Regions from separate parts of the Homo sapiens genome. Here region 2 is linked to region 1. Evidence: promoter capture Hi-C in 16 types of primary human blood cells and fetal thymus (Javierre and others, 2016). All regions are on one chromosome and are shown on one strand. The core of a region is centred on a gene start or on the middle of the fragment in contact, and the rest is flanking DNA. Distances in the headings are between cores, read along the strand shown.

Evidence for each region. Contacts are between HindIII fragments. The CHiCAGO score rates a contact against its expected background, and 5 or more counts as called.
Region 2: a contact is called between a fragment that was not itself captured here and the fragment with the promoter of RBM12B-DT in region 1, in 2 of 17 cell types (naive CD4 T cells and total CD4 T cells). The highest score is 6.4, in naive CD4 T cells.

The regions. Positions count from the first base shown.
Region 1 is chr8:93,739,131-93,743,343 of GRCh38, forward strand. It overlaps RBM12B-DT (RBM12B divergent transcript), which reads left to right and starts at 1,953. Exons shown (of 2, transcript NR_183450.1): 1 at 1,953-2,329. RBM12B (RNA binding motif protein 12B) reads right to left here and starts at 1,879. Exons shown (of 4, transcript NM_001377960.1): 1 at 1,751-1,879; 2 at 1,499-1,566. RBM12B-AS1 (RBM12B antisense RNA 1) reads left to right here and starts at 981. Exons shown (of 1, transcript NR_027259.1): 1 at 981-1,689. RefSeq lists an enhancer at 1,786-1,905. The HindIII fragment of the contact is 3,775 bases long and covers 1,934-4,213 here.
Region 2 is chr8:94,830,337-94,834,549 of GRCh38, forward strand. INTS8 (integrator complex subunit 8) reads left to right here. Exons shown (of 27, transcript NM_017864.4): 6 at 1,656-1,838. Among named protein-coding and RNA genes, the nearest start is that of INTS8, 9.2 kb to the left of the region's middle. The HindIII fragment of the contact is 5,843 bases long and covers 1-4,213 here.

The sequences.
Region 1 (4,213 bases), core at 703-3,202:
TGCAAATTGGCTTAGCTACTCTTTTTAAGATATTTTAGAAAGCACCATAAGCTATACATATTCTTGTCTCTCCTAAGCTTTTAAAAAAATTTTAACGGGATTTACCCTGGGAACATAAATTCATCTACAAGAGAAATTAGAGACGTTTCAAGGAATAATTATATCTCAAATTCAAAAAAACTCTAGTAATTTATCCTACCTCACTTAAAAACTATCTTTTAACCAAGTAGTTTCATGAGCACAAATCTCATGAATTCCAATTCAAGCAGACTATTTAGAAAGTTTATTCTCATTTGCCACAGTTAAACAAAACTAATGCTTAAACTTCTCTACCCTTGAGACAGTAGGGTAATGTACCATTTATGCCTCTACAATAACACACCTTGGAGACCAACTGTAAGAGACCAGCTCTCAAAATGGGCACTTCTGTGGTTCCAACATGCTATATTTCCTTAAGCAAATTCTCCAGAAATTCAACTCTTAACACACTAAATTACACAAAAGCAAAACACGAAAATTACCCTCAAGTAGTCTGCAATTAAAATTTTGCGTTTTTCTAGTTATGAATGCAAAAAGTATTTTTGTGCCTTTGTGTTCATTTGAAGACAATAATCTGTTAAAATTTCTATGAAAAGAAGAGTGGGTCCCTAAAAGATCACTTAAGTCAGTGAAATTTAAAGCGCATTTTAAATAACTGCTATTTTTATCCAACGATTCATCCCACTTAATCACCATTATAACTAAACAATACGTAACGTGCCTCTTCTAATCAAGACTTAAGGGGATACAGAGAGGGAAACGGGAGGGAGACAGAATTTAAATAAGTAATATCTCATCAGATCCATTTGATTTTTAACTAGCGAAGAAAAAGTCATTTTCCAGATATGGTGAGGGAGAGAATTTTTTTTAACTCTGCGACTACTTCGTAAAGCCCAAGGTCATGATGTAGCATATTCACACTCTAAACGTGAGTTTCCCCTGCAGAAAATAATCTACACCAACCCATAATTATTCTTTACGATGATCCACCTTTTATAATGTAGATGTTTAAAATAAAAACCAAAGGAATGACCAATGAGAGCCACAGTCCCTAGGAAGAACTGTAAATGAAGACGAATCCACATGGCACAGGATTTCTCCCAACATCCTCAAACGGGAATCATCCGAAGGCATCGATTCTACAGCCCAAAGCCTTTGTCCACAACTCCCAGGGGTCAGAGCTTCCTTCTTTCGCGCCAGGCCAAAGTTGCTACGTGGGATCCGATGTTGTCGCCAGACTTTCAGCCAAAATCAGCCTTCAAATTAACCTGGACCGCCCAACCTCCGTGCCTTTCCGTTACGCCGTCTCAAGGGCAAACATTCCACCCTAACTCGCCAGAGGGTGAACTGCCCCCAGATCTAACTGAAAACACTTGCCCTTCTCAAGCCTAACGAGCTGGGCCTGCAGCGCTTTTCTGCCACCACTGACTACGATGACATAGCAAAGAAAAAAATATACCTATGAAATCCTTCGAGATCTTCACTCTCAAGATCCCTGGGAAGCGCACATACACCACCACATGGAAGCTGACGGGAAAGGAAGAGTCGGTGTTTTAGCAAGAAAAGAGGGTGCCCTAACGGCAGGAGCTACGCTAGATACTGGCGCGGCCGCCGGTCCCGCCTTTCCCCGTTCTTCCGGCTTGGTCGCCCAGCCCTCCCCACCCCCGGCGCCCCGAGGGGAACTGCTTCGCACTTGGCAATAAACACACACCACTGCTGCCGAGTCGGACACACAAGGCCGGAGGCTGAGGGAACTCTTCGTCGCAGCAGCCTCCCCAAAACAGGTAGACCCTCAGTGAGCCCAGAAGAAGATGGCGCCCACTGCCCCTCCGGTCCGGACAAACGGACGTACGGTTTATCTGCCCATGCGCTCTGCAGGCGCAACCCACCACCAAGCTTGCGCACGCGCGCTGCCGCTCACCCGTTTCCCCTCGCTAGAGGAGGGGAGGCGGAGCCCCGGGGTTGGCTGAGCTTCTGCGCATGCCCAGATTCTGCCCAGCCCAGGGACCTCGACTTTCAACGGGAGAAATTCAGAGACACATTCAGGGCTCAGCCGGTAGATGTGCTGAGAATCTTCGGTAGACAACTGTCGAAGTACGGCGGACAAACTTTAAAGATTTCCAGAAGTTAAGGAAAGAGATGCAAAAGCAGAGAAAAGGCGACTTGTCTTTTCAGTGTTGCATTACTGTGTGGCGTAAAACATCTTCTAAAAAGCTCCTGTGGCCGGGCACGGTGGCTCACGTCTGTAATCCCAGCACTTTGGGAGGCCGAAGCGGGCGAATCACTTGAGGTCAGTAGTTCGAGACCAGCCCGCCCAAAAAGCGAAACCCCCGTCTCTACTAAAAATACAAAAAAGTCAGCCTGGCATGGTGGCGGGCGCCTGTAATCCCAGCTACTCGGGAGGCTGAGGCAGGAGAATCGCTTGAACCCGAGAGATGGAGGCTGTAGTGAGCCGAGATCGCACCGCTGCACTCCAGCCAGGTCAAAAGAGTGAAACTCCATCTCAAAACAAAAATAAAAAAGCTCCTGTAGACCCTAGAATACCACAGAAAAGGTAATTTTACTGCCTTAGATGTTCGCCAAGTACAATCCCAACACCTGGGGGCTTAATAAATGCATGCTTAGTCGGTTTTATAGATATAAATAACCTTGTGAAGTGTCTTTATAAATTTGTTCCCATCTTCTGGATTTTTGAAACAAGAGAACAGATGAGCCAGTACTGAAATTTCAGTAATGGAAAAGCACTATTACAGGTGTACTCTGTGATGCCTGCTACGTAATAGCTGGTGAACAACCTTGTGTTTGGTTTTATCATTTGCAAATAACAAAGTTTCCCACCACGTTGTATAGCTACTTGATGTATTTGTGGATGGATTCAAAGCTCATTAAGCAGAAAGTACATTTTAAAAACATTGTTACAGATGACAGAAAAAGTGAGTTGTGGATCCCTTTCTCACTGCAAAATACCCATTCTTTAATGATATGATTATAAGAAAGAAGAGGTAGTTTAATAAGTAAATAAAAAGATAGTTAACACAAAATCAGAGCCATCTTTTACTCACTGGACAAATTATTTAGCCCCTCTGTGCCTCAGTTTCTTCATCTGTAAAATGGGGATACTCCTAGTACCTACCTCTTAGGGTTGTGGGAAACATTCAGTAAATATGTATGTCTCAGATATATGTAAATAAGTGAGACTATTATAAGTATTTGTGACTTGTTTGAAATGTCAAGGTGATCTATACAGAAGCAGAGGATGTCACTCTGAGGAGGTAGGCTCATTGACTAGATATCATTTACCTTGATAATCCATAGTTTGGTCCTGGCCTTGCAGTCTCAGGAACAGGACCTTAAAAGTTAACGTTTATTGGCCGGGCATGGTGACTCACGCATGTAATCCTAGCATTTTGGGAGGCCGAGGTGATCGAATCACCTGAGTGCAGGAGTTCGAGACCAGCCTGGCCAACATGGTGAAACCCTGTCTCTACTAAAATTACAAAAATTAGCTGGGTGTGGTGGCGGGCACCTATAATCCCAGCTACTCAGGAGGCGGAGGCAGAGGAATCACTTGAACCTGGGAGGAGGAGGTTGCAGTGAGCCGAGACCGTGCCACAGCACGCCAGCCTGGGCGACAAGAGCAAAGCTCCGTCTCAAAAAAAAAAAAAAAAAAGTTAACATTTATTGAGAATTTATTATGTGCCAGGACGTATACATTATCTCAATTTATTCTTACAACTACTTTTGGAGGTAGGTACTATTATTATTCGTATTTTACAGATAAGGGAAACTGAGGCATAGAGGATTACAAAAGCCAGGCAAAATTGAACGTTGCTTGTTTGCCTGCAGAAGCCATTACTCTGTATTGCACAGAAAGAGGACTCTGTCCTCGGAAGCGGACTCCTTTAAACAAGAATACAGAAGCAATGCTCTAAGAAATAGAACATGAGTTACCTAATCTCAAAAGGTGATTCTCAGTTAAGGCTCCCTGGAGACATCCTCACTCATCTTAACAAAAGTAACAGTCATCATTTAATGACCACTTACTGGAGGACTCACCTGGCCAAGTGTGCTCAGGTCAGACTCTGTCCCCTGAGCAAGCTCTGACAGGCGTTTCCAGCCTCCCATGGCCTCCTTCATTGTTCTGGGCTGACCATCCTCCTTCTATTCACACAGT
Region 2 (4,213 bases), core at 853-3,352, 1.1 Mb after region 1:
AAGGTAAGAAACGATCTGTATCTCACTATAGCAAATATGCTGTAATATTTTGAATGTGGAAGCCAAAGCCTACATCATTTCATTGTTGTTATCTAGTTCCTAATAAAATGACTGGCACATTGAAGTATACAGATATTTCTTGAATAAATCAAGTGGAACAGTGCAAATTTTTTCTTTTTTAGACAGGGTCTGACTCTGTTGCCCAGGCTACAGTGCAGTGGCCTGATCTTGGCTCATTGCAGCCTCCACCTCCCAGCCTCAAGCGATCCTCCCACCTCAGTGTTGCCAGTAGCTGGGACTACAGACATGTGCCACCACACTAGACTAATTTTTGTATTTTTTGTAGAGATGGGATTTTGCCATGTTGTTCAGTCTGGTCTCGAACTTCTGGACTCAAGCGATCCACCCACTTCGGACCCCCAAAGTGCTGGTATTACATATATGAGTCACTGTGTCCAGCTAAATCTTTTTTGTTTTTTGAGATGGAGTCTTGCTCTGTTGCCCAGGCTGGAGTGCAATGGTGCGATCTCAGCTCACTGCAACCTCTGCCTCCCGGGTTCAAGCGATTCTTCTGCCTCAGTCTCCCAGGTAGCTGGGATTATAGGCGTGCTCCACCATGCCTGGCTAATTTTTGTATTTTTAGTAGAGATGGGGTTTCACCATGTTGGTCAGGCTGGTCTTGAACTCCTGACCTCGTGATCTGCCCATCTTGGGCTCCTAAAGTGCTGGGATTACAGGTGTGAGCCACCGTGCCTGGCCACCAGCTAAATCTTTAAAGCATTAACTTTTCTTTTTTAGACAGAATATTACTCTGTCACCCAGGCTGGAGTGCAGTGGCATGATCTCAGCTCACTGCAACCTCTGTCTCCTAGGTTCAAGCAATTCTTGTGCCTCAGCCTCCCTAGTAGCTGGGATTACAAGTGTATGCTACCATGGCCAGCTAATTTTTGTAGTTTTAGTAGAAACAGGATTTCTCCATGCTGGCCAGGCAGGTCTCGAACCCCTGGCCACAGATGATCCTCCTGCCTCGCTTGGCCTCCCAAAGTGTTGGGATTACGGGTGTGAGCCACTGCCCCTGGCCTAAAGTATCAACTTTTCTACAGAAAAAAGATACCAGTCTTTCCTGTTTTTTGTATTGTCTTTTTCTTTTTTTTTTTTTTTTTGAGATGGAGTTTCGCTCTGTCACCCAGGCCGGAGTGCAGTGGCACGATCTTGGCTCACTGCGACCTCCACCTCCCAGGTTCAAGCAATTCTCCTGCCTCAGCTTCCTGAGTAGCTGGGATTACAGGCGTCTGCCCCCATGCCCGGCTAATTTTTGTATTTTTAGTAGAGATGAGGTTTCACCCTATTGGTCAGGCTGGTCTCGAACTCCTGATCTCGTGATCTGCCCGCCTCGGCCTCCCAAAGTGCTGGGATTATAGGCGTGAGCCACCATGCCTGGCCCTCCTGTTTTTCATATTTTCTAACCTCACAATAGGAACTTATTTCCCTTCATTTAAGGTAACTTTATTTCAACAAATGTAATTGTACTCTTGCTGTGTTAAAAATTTTTTTAATAGCTTAGTGTACTGAGTTACTAAATAGACTGTAAATATTTTTGGTTATTATAATCAGTTGCTATTTTTGTATTTTTATTTGTTTATTGATTTCTGTAGCTCAAAGAACAAGCTGCTGATTCTATTTTGGTACTAGAAGCAGCCCTAAAATTAAACAAGGATCTTTATGTCCATACGATGAGAACTCTAGATTTATTGGCCATGGAACCAGGCATGGTAAATGGAGAAACTGAGAGTTCTACTGCTGGATTGAAAGTCAAAACCGAAGAAATGCAGTGCCAGGTATTCATTTGATACTTAATTTACGTAGGGCAATTTTTTGGAAAATCTTAATATGAGATCATCCTCCTATTTTTAATTAGAATTTATTTCTGCCTTTGTCTCTTAAGATGCTATTAAAACTGCATTGTATTTAATTTATACATTTATAAGATTTGACATTTTTCTAAAAGAAATGGAAGAGAAATTTTATGTCATCTGTTGTCTCTGAAATAGTTTCCGGATTGTATTTAGGAGACAGAGTTTAAGTACTGAGAATACAGTTATATGTAATTGATTTACAGTTCTTTCATATTATCAGAAATCTGATCAGACCAAAAGAAGATAAAAACTAATATTATGCTAGACTTTGAAAAATCTAGACCTCAAGAGAGAGTGTCTAGCTTTTCAGGGATCTTAAGTTTGCCCTCTTTCTATAACTCTGGGCCCCTTGTTCCTTTCACAGTTTTCAGTTGATGCTTATTGTCAGGTATTATTTGTTTTTGTTTTTGTTTTTTTTTTGAGACGGAGTCTTGCTCTGTCACCCAGGCTGGAGTGCAGTGGCATGATCTCAGCTCACTGCAAACTCCGCCTCCCGGGTTCATGCCATTCTCCTGCCTGAGCCTCCCGAGTAGCTGGGACTACAGGCGCCTGCCACCACACCCGGCTAATTTTTTGTGTTTTTAGTAGAGACGGGGTTTCACCGTGTTGGCCAGCGTGGTCTAGATCTCCTGACCTCGTGATCCGCCCGCCTCGGTCTCCCAAAGTGCTGGGATTACAGGCGTGAGCCACCGCGCCCGGCCGTTGTCAGATATTACTTTGTGTGTTTATGTCTTCTTTTTCCCTACTGGATTATAACTCTTTGACATCTCTCTCTCTCTCTTTTTTTTTTAATATGTTCTGCGTCTTACTTTCCAGAGTAGGACCTTGAGTAAAATAGAAATTTTAAAGTATTCAGTGATTGTCTAGAGAGGGCTACTAAGATTGTACCTTCTAAACTGTATTGTCTTTCCTTATTCGTATGAGTTGGCATGGCTTCTTTTATCACTAATTCCTTTTCTGGAAAGGGGTAAAAATAGTTATGACAGTTTTGGGAAGGTGCGTTTTCAGATTAGCTGTTTCCAGAGCTGAAGGTAATCATTTATTCAAGGCCTGATGAGCTGGAGTTTGCAGCAGGAGTAGGAGTTAATGAAGTATTGATACTTGGTAACCCTTTTTGTAAAAAAAAAAAATTTTAATTTTTTTTTTATAGAGACAGGGTCTCCCTATGTTGCCCAGGCTGGTCTCGGAACTCCTGGGCTCAAGGGATCCTCCCACCTTGGCCTCCCAAAGTGCTGGGATTACAGGATACTTGGTAACATTTTAAAATCACTGATGAAACTTGCATATAGGAGTGTTACTGGTATGTAGTATCTCATAATCTTTCAGAACCCGTTTAAAAGTTGTTGATGACACTTCTGATTTTTGCAACATGGTGGATGATACAACCTGAAAACAAAACTCCTGTAAAACATCTGTATGTGCTAGGCAAACTATCAAATGTTCTTTTACTTACATAGCTGAGTGACAATTCCTGTTTTTTGAAGGGCAAATTAGTGGTAACACTCATTTCCTGGCATGACAATGTTTTTCTTTTTTGAGACGGAGTTTCACTCTTGTTGCCCAGACTAGAGTGCAATGTCGTGATCTCAGCTCACCACAACCTCCGCCTCCCAGGTTCAAGCAATTCTCCTGCCTCAGCCTCCCAAGTAGCTGGGATTACAGGCATGCACCACCTCGCCTGGCTAATTTTTGTATTTTTAGTAGAGATGGGGTTTCTCCATGTTGATCAGGCTGGTCTCAAACTCCCGACTTCCAGTGATCTGCCCGCCTCGGCCTCCCAAAGTGCTGGGATTACCGGTGTGAGCCACCAGATCATATCTAAAGTAGGTTCTTTACATTACTAAAATTTACCTTAGACTTAAAAAGAAAAATTGTTATTTTTTTCCCCCAATAAAACCAGGCCTTAATGCCCTTCAGGGCAGCTTCATTATCAGGCTTTTTTGTTTTTACAGTAAATCTATTGAGCACCTCTTAACCTCTAAACTCATTGTAATGGCTAGTCAGTTGCTAGAGTAATACTTGAAAATATGTTTTTGGTATTTTGCAGTCTATCTTTGCCTAGAAAGGGGAATTATATATAACTGTAGTAAGTATGCATATATGTGCATGGGTGTGTGTGTGTGTGTGTGTGTGTGTGTGTGTGTGTATTTTTTGCTCTTTTAGTATCCCTTTACTCCAGATAGGAGGAACTCTCTAGAATGAAAATCAGCCAAGGGAGGCCAAGATGAGCGGATCACCTGAGGTCAGAAGTTCTAGACCAGCCTGGCTAACGTGGCAAAATCCTGTTTCTACGAAAA